Linked DNA regions of Homo sapiens: all the other regions are linked to region 3. The links are contacts of gene promoters, found by promoter capture Hi-C in blood cells and fetal thymus (Javierre and others, 2016). All regions are on one chromosome and are shown on one strand. Each heading gives the region's core, a stretch centred on a gene start or on the middle of the fragment in contact. The rest is flanking DNA. Distances are from core to core; before and after follow the strand shown. Region 1 has its middle 22 kb from the start of CD300E. Region 2 overlaps RAB37-AS1 (RAB37 antisense RNA 1). Region 3 holds the start of FDXR (ferredoxin reductase).

Region 1 (3,907 bases), core at 1,143-3,642, 230 kb before region 3:
GCTATGGCAATCTCCTCAACATGCTTGAAATATATGAAAAGATAGAAAATCTCAGCAAGGAAATAGACACAAAGAAGTAGCAAGTGGACATTTTACAAATGAAAAATATGATAACTAAATTTTTTAAATTCAGCTAATGGGCTCAACATCAGGAGGGAGAGGACAGAGGAAAGAATCGGTGAACTTGAACACAGAACAATAGAAATTGTCTGATCTGAGCAAAAGAGAGAAAATAGACTTTAAAAGATGAACAGAGCCTTAGGTAGCTGTGGGACTGTAATAAAAGAGCAAACATTCATGTCATTGAAGTTCCAGAAGAAGAAAAGAAAGAAAGCAGAGTTGCAAAAAGGTATTTGAAAACATAACGGCTAAAATTTTCCCAGTTTCAGCAAGACATAAAGCTACAGATCCCAAGATAACTATCCTCAAAGTCAGTCAGAGCCTGGGTCTAAAAACCATTTTGAGCAGATTCCTGGAAAACTCAATCTCCAGTCCAAACATTCTTCTAACCTCAGACCTCCTTGCCATCCCTCTCCTTGATATCTGCACTTGAGCCGTCTCAAAGATGCATCCAACTCAACAAGTCCAAAGTAAACTCACAATTATGCCCTCCAGAAAGGAGTCCCATCACCTTACACTGTTTCCTAGTTTTCATCCCTGACCCCTCTGTGTCTTCATCCCCACACTCTGTCCTGCCTGGAGCCCATTCAATGTTGCCTCCTGTTAAAGCTCTCAGATTTGTCCATCTCTCTATCTCCTTCTCTGCCAACCTAGCCCAAGCTACCATCGTCTGTCAATAGCCTCCCAGGTGGTCTGCCCACGTTCACTCTTAGTTTTTCGCCACTGTGCAGCCAGAATGGTATTTTTGCAAACAAATCTGATCTTGCCACTCCCCCTGTAAGAAACATTAACAGCCTCCCAGGGCTCTTACAACTCCTCTACTGGACCTCAGTTTGGCCCCTGCTGACCTCCCAAGCCTCAAGCCATAATAACCTCCCACTTAATCCCCAAGGGGCAACCACAAAGATTTTGGTTCCTCAGACAGAACACATTCCCTTGATTACAGTGACTGTTCACACACTGTTTCCTGGGCCTAAAATGCTCCTTTCCTCTCTTTGCTTGGTTAACTCATACTCTTCCTCCAAATCTCAAATAAATTATCATTCATTCAACTCAACAAATATTTACTGGACACCTACTACATGCCAAATACCGTGCTAGGTGCTGGAATGCAGCAACAAACAAATCAAGCTTCTGTCCTCAGGAAGCTTACATTCTCCTAGGGGGAGGGGGAGAGGAGAAAATAAACACATATAAAATGTACCAGGTGGTCATAAGTGCCCCGAAGACAAAAAGGGTAGAGGGAGTGAGGGGAGGCAAATGCTATTGTATTAATATCTATAGAGAAGGTATCTATGATAAAGTGTTATCTTATTTTAACAGAGACCTGAAAGAAGGGTGGGAGCCACACTGACAGCTGCAGGTGAAGAGTGCAAGGTAGGCCGGGTGCGGTGGCTCACGCCTGTAATCCCAGCATTTTGGGAGGCCAAGGTGGGCGGATCACGAGGTCAGGAGATCGAGACCATCCTGGCTAACACGGTGAAACCCCGTCTCTACTAAAAATACAAAAAATTAGCTGGGCAAGGTGGCAGGCGTCTGTAGTCCCACCTACTCGGGAGGCTGAGGCAAGAGAATGGTGTGAACCCCAGGGGGCGGAGCCTGCAGTGAGCCGAGATCGCGCCACTGCACTCCAGCCTGGGTGACAGGAGACACCATCTCAAAAAAAAAAAAGAGTGCAAGGTAGAGGGGGCTGCTGTGCAAAAGTCCTGGGGTGGGAGCAGAGGCCACCATGGCTCAGGAAGAGGGAATGAGGGCAAGAGTGGAATGAGACGAGATCAGAAAGGAAACAGAGTCATCATTTAAGGGCCCATAGGCCTTAATAGGGAGTTGGATTTGACTCTGAATGATGCAGGGAGCCATTGGAGAATTACGTGACCTGGCTTACTTTAAAAGGATCACACGGGCTGCTGCGAGGAAAAAACAATTGACAGAGGTAAGGCAGGAAACTGGGAGACATGAATAAGCAATTGTAGCCTTCCAGGTGTGAGACAACGGTGGGCTAGGCCATGTGGGGGAAGTGGATGGGGTGAGACATCGCTGGAGCCCAGTTGAATCAATGCCCCTAATGGAAGTTCCCAGAGCACCTCCTTCTTCTATGGTGGTTGTAATGGGACATTTATTGGTGCACATTTGATTAATGTCTGTCTCCCCCTACTGGGCTATAAGCCTCAAGAAGGCAAGAAATGGGTCTTCTTTGCTCACCATTGCATTTCCAACATCCAGTGCCCACAATATATGCTCTATATAGTTTTCTTGAATGAATGAATGAATGAATGAACAAATACCCCAAAAACAAAAGCACAAACACACAATCCTTTAAGTCTACTTGGGAAGCCCAGCCTTCCCTGCTCTCTTGAGGCTCTGCAAGAAGCAGTCATGCAACATCCACTCCATGCCCAGCACCTTCCAGGCACAATATTAAAGAAGTGCAGGGGCCAGGTGCAGTGGCTCACCCCTGTAATCCCAGCACTTTGGGAGGCCGAGGTGGGTGGATCACAAGGTCGGGAGTTTGAGACCAGCCTGGCCAATATGTGAAACCCTGTCTCTACTAAAAATACAAAAATTAGCTGGGCATGGTGGCAGGCACCTGTAGTCCCAGCTACTCAGGAGACTGAGGCAGGAGAATCGCGTGAACCTGTGAGGTGGCAGTTGCAGTGAGCCAAGATCACACCACTGCACTCCAGCCTGAGCAACAGAGAGAGACTCTGTCACAAAAGAAAAAGAAAAAGAACAAGAGCAGGGCAGTGTGACATTTGCTACCCAGGTTCAGGTCCAGGGTCTGCCAGCCATGGCCAGAGACATAATAATTGCTAAGAATTACTGAGTTTACTTTGTTTCAGAGACCACTTTAGATGCTTTCTGTTATTACTTTGCTTAAATCCCGTGCAAGTCAAACAAAGTAGGTATTATTATTATTATCCAGATGCATAAACTGTATGGCACAATCACACATCCCTGGGTCCTCCCAGGAGGGCCACCACACTCTGAAACTCCAGTCTTTTCTATTTTTCAGAGACGGAGTCTCACTCTGTCGCCCAGGCTGGAGTGCAGTGGTGCAATCTCAGCTCACTGCGATCTTCACCTCCCAGGTTCAAGCGATTCTCCTGCCTCAGCCTCCCAAGTAGCTGGGATTACAGGTGCCCACAACCATGCCCAGTTGATGTGTGTGTGTGTGTGTGTGTGTGTGTGTGTGTGTGTTTAGTAGAGATGGAGTTTTGCCATGTTGGCCAAGCTGATCTCGAATTCCTGACCTCAGGTGATCAGCCTGCCTTGGCCTCCCAAAGTGCTGGGGTTACAGGCATGAGCCACCGCACCTGGCCTGAAACTCCTTTCCAAACCTAAGTTTAGATTTCCAATGCCACTGAAATCTCACCTAAATTCAGGGCAATCAGAGGGAGAAGCTTCTACACACCCCAAATCTCAGGCTGTCTCTCCATCTCCTTCCCTTGGTCAAGTGGCAACCTCCCAAGGACGGCCACAAGGCACCCAGAGCCCAGCTGCAGAGTCCACTGGCTCTGTGGGAGTCCTGGAGATAAAGGACACCACCGTCCCCTCTCAGATGCCCCAAGCTAAATGGACCCAGCAAAGCCTGGCCCAGCAGCTCCAACTGCTGTCTGTGGGGAAGCTGGCTGAAAGAGCTCCGGGGCAGGCTCCGTGTCTTATCTGTCCTGCAAATCCAGAGCTGTGGGTGCCAGGAGCCAAAGCCTCATTTCTGAGCCTGGTTTGTGTCCTAGCTTAGCCCAGATCCTAAAAGTCAGGAGATGAAGGAATGGCCATCATTCTTCTT
Region 2 (4,021 bases), core at 1,454-3,953, 200 kb before region 3:
TTCAAAACTCTTAACATGATCCACATGATCTGGTCCTTATCTATCTCTAGATTGGTCTCCCGTTACCCTTCTCCCATCTTTCTCAGGACTCTAGCCACACTGGTCTTTTCTCAGCTCTTCACACCTTAAAGCCTCTGCATGTATCGATCGCTTTGCCTGGAATCACTCCACCACCACCACCCTCTTCGACTAATGCCCACTTTTCCTTCAGATCTCAGCTTAAACATCATTTCTCATGAAAGTCTTCCATCATCAATTCTGGATTGGTTCAGATCCTCTGCTATTTGCTCTATAAACCTGAACAAACAGAATCATGTTTCTGAAGCTTCAGAACTCCAAACAAGACTCTGAGGAGTGACCCTTCCAAGGAATGTGAGGTTCCAGGCAAAGCCTCTAGAATCTTCTTATCTATAATAGTCAGGGTTGGTGAGGAAGCTCAGGAGAAAGTTAAGATGAGCGAGTCTAAGCTATCCGTTCTGTACTTTTTTTGAGTATAGACAACTTTGAGAACTTAATAAAATCTATGGGATTCATTTCTTCTTCTGGAGATTGCCTCTCCCCCAGAAAAAGTCACAGAAGCAAAATTTTGTGTAATGTTATCAATGTTGCAAAGTTCCCCTAACATCCATTTATCCACCTCACATTAAGAACCCCAACCATTGGATGTTATGTATTTGTCACAGGCTGAAAACAAACAAACAAACAAACAAAAACAAAAACAAAAAAAATCAGCCCAGTGAGAATCTCATAAAACAAACACATTGGTTCCCTAGCTTTGTTCATTTAATCAATGTTCATTGAGTATCTACAGTATAGTGATTCCAGCAATAATAACACCTTATAAATGAAATTTACTTTACAATTTAAAAGAAAATAAAGACTTTTCATGTACATTGTCTCACTCTTCCCCCAAACCCAATAAAGTGGGCATAGATTACTCTACCTATTTTGCAGATGAGAAAACATAAGTAATCCCAGGGAACACGAGTGATCTGGTTCACACAACTCAGCCAAAAAGGAGTGAAACCCAGCAGTAAAACGCACTCTTTTAACCCTAAGCCTGGCTCTTTCCTTCCATGTTGATATTGACTCCAAGGGCCCGTGGCTGGTACTAGGACTTGTCCTTAGTAATCTGATAATAATCCCAGGGGCCACAGTCTCAGCCTCCAGTTCCCATGGTGGTCAGCCTCACGCTCTCATATTCCATGTGATGATGCAATTTTGCCAATCAAAGGTCGCAGCAGCAGGACTCCCCTGACGTATAGGAGAAGTAGCCAGAGCTCTTCATCCCCTGCCAGGAGAGCATAGTAGCTCACATTTATTGAGTTCTTAGTACACGCTGGGCACTGTTCTAGGCTTTTTACATGAATTAACTCATTAAATACTCAGAACAAAACCATGAGGCAGGTACTATTATAATATTATCTCCATTTTGTGGACACTTAGGAAAGATTAATTTGCCCGAGTTTGCACGACTAATAATTTTCAGAATCGAGATTTGAATCCTGGAGCCTGTGCTCCTAACCAAACCACCATCTGCCTCTCCTGAGCCCATTGTCCTTAACTTCTTGCGGTCATGTGTGCTGGAGAGAATGTGATCAAAGCCCTGGACCTTCTCCCTAGGAAAACGCAGGTAAACAGAATTTTGCATATTTCAGGGACTTTGGGGACACCTAAGACCCATCTACTGTCGACCTCAGACTTAGAAGCTCTATTTATCTCATACATCCTGGAGAGAATTGTCCAGGGACAAAAACAGAAGCGCCGCCAGCGCCGCAGGACTTCGCCTCTGCAAACGTGTGAGGAGAGCTGCGCTGCGCTGAGCTGCGTGGTGACGGAGATGCCCGTTCGCTCGGGATCAGGAACGGTGAGCTCCTGGGACCGCAATGCCCTGAGAACGCAGCCGGGTGCTGAGCCTCCGGAGTCCGGTAGCTGAATGAAATACGCAGGGATCACCAGCCGGACCCAAATCTTGCGTCCCTGCCAGCATCCTGGAGTCCTAAGAGGCAGGGATTGGAGCGGACAGGATCTCAGAACTCTGGTCCCGGGCGCACAACGGCGGAGTCGCTGTTCCTGGTGCTGAAACGCTCAGTCCTGGAAGAACGTGGCCGCCTGCCCGCCTGGTACCGCGCCGCGGCCGCTGCGGGGAACTGTCCAGTGCTGAAAACGGATGCGGCCCGGCCCGCAGAGCTCAGACCCAAGCCTGCCGCACCCAGCGGAGCTCGAACCGAGCTCCTGGAAGCGCTGACGCAGAGCGCAGGGAGAGCCGGAGCGGCGAGCTCCAAGCCTGGCATGGACCTGCAGAGACCCGATTCCTACCAGGGAGGAGCTGGCCCTGACTTCAACGACCACGTCCTGCATAAGGTAAACATCTCCTGTATTCCTCAACCTAACGTTGGAAGAGGCGCCAGCACCAGGAGTTTTCTCCACTCCCCTGACTTTGCTTTGGGACTTAATGAGAAACTAGCTTGTATCTGTGAGTCTGGGGAGCCCTTTCTGTCTGATCCTGTTTCCTGCTCAAAACAGAGATGCGTGAGCTCTTGGGGAAGGGCTGCCGCCAGAGGCTCAGATGGTCAGAAGCTTCATTCATTCACTTACATCATCTGTGTTCCTTTTTCACCCCCTCCTTCTCCTTGCCTATTTATGCCCCTGGGTGACCCCTGGCACCTTGCTCTCCTAACCCTTGTAGGAGACTGCATTTCTCCCTGTTACATCTGCTAGCAGTGGCCAAATACCTGAATTTCTGGCCAATTTGTCTGAAATTAGATAAATGGTCTGCAGCAGAGATGAACTGCTGTTTTCAAATCAGACTCCCTCATGGCTCCAGAAAGCTTCCCTCCAGCCATGATTCCCTCACAGCCCCTGTAAGCATTTGCTTATTTCAAAGCACTAACATATCCATTGCTTCCTTCACTCAAGTTTCTTATGCAACTCAGTTTTCAGTAATGCAGGTCTCCCCCTAAGATAGTTGTTGGGAAAAATAGTAGCCTCTCTCAGGATAACAGTTTTAATTCAAAATCCATCACTCTGAAATAATCAAAGTGTTATATTTGCCATAAGAAGTTATTATGGCTCACCTTCCTTTTCTCTGACTTTGCCATGCCTTCCTGCTCCAGCCCCTATATTTTCTGCTTTGATAATGCCAGTTCACCTGCTAGTCCTTTGAAAAGCTGTACGTGATCCTATAGGTGGAGTTTTTTAATCAAAACATCACTTTGAAGAGTCTATGAATGCAAGCTTTGAAATAACCTAACCCAACCTCCTCCTCTATCACCCAGCTTATATTTGAGGAAACTAAAATCCAGAGAGGAAAAATGACTTGTCCAAGAAAGCAAGCTGGTAAATGGCAGAGCTGATACTAAAAGCCAGAAATTACTACTACACGTGTAGTATTCTTTCCTCTATATCCTTACTAAACTTCTCATCAAAGTGTGCAGTCCATGGACCAGCAGCATTGGCATTACCTTGGAACTTATTACAATAGAAAGCCCTGACCCTAGATTGGCTGAATCTGAATCTGCATTTTAACAAGATCTCTAGGAATAAATATGCACAATAAAGTTTTAGGTGCATGGCTCTGTGCCATGCTGCCTGTTTCTGACACAAATGAAAGAAAATCAGCTATTGAAGGAAGCAGGTCTCTAGATCTGACAGTCCATGTGTCTTCTCCCTCCAGGTCTCTGAATTCCTAGGATATAGAGAAGGAGAAAAAATGTATAACAACTATCCCAGTCTAGAAATTTTAAAGCCATCACAGTTTGAAGTAAACTAGAAGAAATTCTGTGCTATTTGATGTTGTCAATTTAGCCCAGTAAAAACTGCATGCAAGGCCAGGCATGGTGGCTCACACCTGTAATCTCAGCACTTTGGGAGGCCGAGGCGGTGGACCGCTTGAGGTCAAGGGTTCAAGACCAGCCTGGCCAACATGGTAAAATCTGTCTCTACTAAAAATACAAAAATTCGCTGGGCATGGTGGTGTGCGCCTGTGATCCCAGCTACTCAGGAGGCTGAGGCAGGAGAA
Region 3 (4,372 bases), core at 1,396-3,895:
TCAACCAAAAATACAAAAATTAGCTGCATGTGGTGGAGTGCGCCTGTAATCCCAGTTACTCAGGAGGCTGAGGCAGGAGAATCGCTTGAACTTGGGAGATGGAGGTTGAAGTGAGCTGAGACTGTGCCACTGCACTCCAGCCTGGGCGACAGAGCCAGACTCCATCTCAAAAAAAAAAAAAAAAAAAAAAGAACACTGCCTGGAAAGCTTACTCTCCTCCCTTCCAAAATGTCAGGATCAGCTAAAAAAAAACTGTCCCTTATACAAAGCCCTTCAGGGCCTCTCCAGCCCCCATGTGCTCCCTGATCTCCATCCCAGAGCCCAGGCTGTCCTCCCTCCCACATGGCAGCGTGCCCAAGGCCTTGCATTCCAGGATGACTCCCCACATGTGGGAGGCCCTCACCAAAGCCCTTGGTCTGCTTCAAGGCAGCTCAAATGCACTGTCTCTCTTTTTTTTTTTTTTTTTTTTTTTGAGACAGGGTCTCACTCTGTCGCCCAGGCTGGAGTACAGTGATTTGATCTTGGCTCAGTGCTACCTCCACCTCCTGGGTTCAAGCGATCCTCCCGACTCAGCCTCCCAAGTACCTGGGACTACAGACCTGTGCCACCACACGTGGCTGATTTTTCTATTTTTAGTAGAGATGGGGTTTCACCACGTTGGCCAGGCTGGTCTCAAACTCCTGACTTCAAGTGATCCACCTGCCTTGGCCTCCCAAAGTGCTGGGATTACAGACATGAGCCACCTGGGCTTCCGGCCCAGGAAACAGTTTCTGATTGACCCCACCTGCCTCGGCTCACGCTGCCCACATTATTGTAATTAGCTCTTTCACCCGTGTTGCCTGGGAAGCATGCACGGGTCACTTTTCAGCAGAGTGATCAACTCATCCCAGTTTCCCAAGAACTTCCAGCTTAGCGCTGAAGCCCCTTGTCCTGGGCAGTCCAGGCCAGTTGGTCACCCTACATTTCAAGCATCTGTGTGTGTGTGTATAATTAAGATATTCATCCTTTCTCTTGTCTCTCCACGGACACTCCAAGCCTCTCCAAAGCTAGGCAACTGTCTCACGTCTCAGTTAACCTGGGTATCCCCTCTCTACTCTGTCCCAAAGTCTGATGTGGAGTCTCAAGTAGAACCTGTAGCCTTGGCTTGGGGCCCTTCCTGCCGAGGCAGACACTGAAAGCCTTGAGATCCTGGCCTTCACAGGGGAAGGGGGAGGGGCAGAGGGCAGGCTGAAAGAACAGAATGGCACGGAGGACTGGAGCTATGGGTGAGGAGGGCATGGCAAGGCAGGTAAAGTTACAGAAAGCGGAGGAGGTGGGTAGCCTCGAGATGTAGGATGTTTGGGATAGAGTGAAGATAGACGAGAGAGGAGGGAAGATGAAGGAGGACAAAGTCATTTTGCAGGTCTACATAAGCCCCCTGGAGTGCTTGGCCAGGGAGGCAAAGCTGACCACCTGCCACTGACCACTCACCACCAATGTGCGTTTTACACCCCTGTCACACTGAGGACGGGAGGGGAGGGGAGCCTCAGGTGTAGGTGAGGAAGCAAGTGGGAAGTGTCCAGGCCAGATGGCTGGGAGCCCCTTCCCCATAAGGCAACCAGGAGTGCTCTTAAAACCCAAAGCGGGTGAGGCTTGCCCTTAGGACTGGAGCAGCAGGTGAATGATGGACTATGAGTAAGTGGCTTACCTTTAGCAGGTGTTGGGCCGTGTAGAAGCCAGCTGGGCCACTGCCCACCACACAGATCTGGGGGGTCTTCTCCTGTGTGGAGAAATGGTGGCAGAAGCCTGGGGCCAGGCAGAGGAGAGGGAAAAGGTCAAAATTAACTTCTCTCCCCAGTCCCAAACCAACCTGAATATCCAACAGAAGCTGGAACTTCCCAAGCTTCACCCTCACCTGCATCCTCCTTCTCTTGTTCCTCAAGGCTTTGGCATTTGCAGGGTCTCTTACTTCATCTGAACCCCCAAAGGCTGTGGGTTCATCCAGAGCCCACATCTCACCCATGAACCTACTACACCACTGCCAATGGCCTGCCCAACAACACTTCATTCCCTATCCAATCGGCTAGAATCCCACATCCTTCCAACGGCCTCCATATCATCCCAATCTCGCCCCCGTGGGTCTCCCCACGGTGTCCCTCCTCTAACCCCTCTCTCTCTCCACAAAACGCTATATTGCCCATATAGACCCGTCTTATTCCTACAGATCCCTGTTTCGACTCAGACTTTCCTCTCGCCCCACAGACCTCCGTATCATCCTCCATTCACCCCGTCTCACACCTGTAGATCTCAAAGTCTCTCCTTTTCACCTTTGTTGACCTCCGTCTCTAACCCTAGAAGCCTCACATCTCACGCACAGATCTCCGCCCACCCCCGTACACCACCGGGATCTCGCCAGCAGGAAGACACCCCTTCAGTCTCACCCTTCTCCAGCCCTGCCCCAGCTCTGCTCCGACCCCTACTCAGCGCTCGCAGGCCTCCCCGCGCTCCCATCCAGCCCCAAAGGCGCCCTGCTCCTACTCGGGGTGCTCCCGGCGGGAGGCAGCCGGGTCCGAGGCCACGCCGACCAGCCCCACCAGCGCCAGCAGCGCGAAGCCATGGCTGGGAGCAGCAACCTGCAAGTGGATCTGTTCCTAGCTACTGCTCCGCAGGGCAAGCCCGCTCCTGCCCGGGCCCGCCCACAAGCGAGGCCCCGCCCCAAACCCCGCCCCCTGCGCTCCGGGAAAGCGGAGCCTTGCGGCTCCACCCCGACTCCCGAGAGAATCCCGCCCCCAAAAGAGAGACCCGCCCTTAACTACGCCCCACCGTCGAAGCCCCGCCCCTCGGAGCATCCGGGGTATACGCGATTTAATACATTTCTCCCCAGGCCTCACCTTCCCTCCAAATCCCGGAAGCCTAGGGTTGGAAGAGAGCGAATCCCCATCGCTGTTTCAGTCCCTCCCCAAGGAAACAGCCACTAAGAAAGGAGCTTATTTTACTTAGCCGCGCCCCTCTCGGGAGGCTCTCGTCGCTCACTGATGACGCAGACGCCCTTGCCATTTGATTGCGAATCCTCCCACGTGACTTCGTCCTAGCCAATCACGAGTCCGGCTCCAAGCGAGCCTTCCCGCCGTTGGGAAATAACCAGAGTGCGGAAGTCTGGGGCGAGGGAGCTCCTTCCCGGAGCCCAGCAGCCTCCTTCTTCGACCCCGGGTGTTGTGCCGATGTAACCCCTCAAATCCCCGTCTTTGCCGGGCCAGGGAGAATATTAAACCCTGGAAAGCTCGTCCCACCTCACCTCCTTTCCCATTACATAGGTGAAGAAAAGCGGGGCGGGGCAGTGGCTTACGTATGGTACTAAGGACAGAGCGTCCGACCCCCGTGCAGCCGAGCCGGGACCAGAGTTGAGGTACTCCCCTCGGGTTCAGAATTTAAGGGGGCTCCAAAACACTCAGTAATCAAGATAAATATAATACTGCAACGTTTTAAAAGGTCAAAAGTAATGCAAAAAGTCTATGATCAAAATGTTTTTAAAAATAAGGACAGGATCCGTAGTCACAGCTGACCCAATAAGCCTAACCCCTCTTCCTTTTCCCCATGGGCCCTCTTGTCAAATATTACTTCCTTGGAGAAGCCTTTTCTCTGACCCGTCCCCTCCCAAGTTCCAAGGAGTTAAAGGCCTCTCATTCCACAGCATCTGACCTTATCCCATCATGACTTACTACACTGGTTGTCGTTTTTAATGAGATTTTAAATTCAATAATAACATACAGAAAAGTGCACAAATCATGAGTGTACAACTTGACAATATATCACAAGGTGTAACCATATAACCACCACCCAGATCAAGAAATAAAACATGGCCAGTATCCCAGGAGTCCTCTGTGCCCTTACTGGTCACTTCCCCTCCCTCCCACTGGTAAGTAAATGCTGTCTGCTTTCTAATAGGTCACTGTGTTTTATGCCTGTCCCACTAGACCAGGAGTAGGCAAACTATAGCTTGCAGGCCAAATACTGTCCACCAGCATGTTTTGGATGACCAACAAGAATGGCTTTTACTGTTTTTGTTTTTTTGGAGGTTTTGGGGTTTTTGTTTTTGGTTTTGATTTTGTTTTTTGAGACAGGGTCCTGCTCTGTCACCCAGGCTGGAGTGCAGTGGTGCTCACTGCAACCTCTGCTTCCTGGCTTGGCTCAAGCGAGCCTCAGGCCTCAGCCTCCGGAGTAGCTGGGACCACAGGTGCCTGCCACCACGCCTGGTTCATTTTTGCATTTTTTGTGGAGATGGGGTTTTGCCATGTCACCCAGGCTGGTCTCGAACTCCTGAACTCAAAGCGATCCTCCCACCTCGGCCTTCCAAAGTGCCAGGATTACAGGAGTGAGCCACCACACCCAGCTT

Evidence for each region. The method cuts DNA at HindIII sites, captures the fragments that hold promoters and counts their contacts. A CHiCAGO score of 5 or more calls a contact.
Region 1: a contact is called between a fragment that was not itself captured here and the fragment with the promoter of FDXR in region 3, in 1 of 17 cell types (naive B cells). The highest score is 5.6, in naive B cells.
Region 2: a contact is called between a fragment that was not itself captured here and the fragment with the promoter of FDXR in region 3, in 1 of 17 cell types (naive CD4 T cells). The highest score is 6.3, in naive CD4 T cells.

Annotation. Positions count from the first base shown.
Region 1 is chr17:74,644,208-74,648,114 of GRCh38, forward strand. No RefSeq gene overlaps it. Among named protein-coding and RNA genes, the nearest start is that of CD300E, 22 kb to the left of the region's middle. The HindIII fragment of the contact is 2,253 bases long and covers 1,267-3,519 here.
Region 2 is chr17:74,669,295-74,673,315 of GRCh38, forward strand. It overlaps RAB37-AS1 (RAB37 antisense RNA 1), which reads right to left. Exons shown (of 2, transcript XR_007065904.1): 2 at 766-4,021. It also overlaps a transcript of RAB37 not described here. Among named protein-coding and RNA genes, the nearest start is that of RAB37-AS1, 6.3 kb to the right of the region's middle. The HindIII fragment of the contact is 251 bases long and covers 2,579-2,829 here.
Region 3 is chr17:74,870,349-74,874,720 of GRCh38, forward strand. It overlaps FDXR (ferredoxin reductase), which reads right to left and starts at 2,646. Exons shown (of 12, transcript NM_024417.5): 1 at 2,518-2,646; 2 at 1,688-1,785. The coding sequence starts at 2,596. RefSeq lists enhancers at 1,998-2,898, 2,696-2,990, 2,946-3,175, 3,796-4,372 and silencers at 2,386-2,515, 2,556-2,785. The HindIII fragment of the contact is 12,318 bases long and covers 1,881-4,372 here.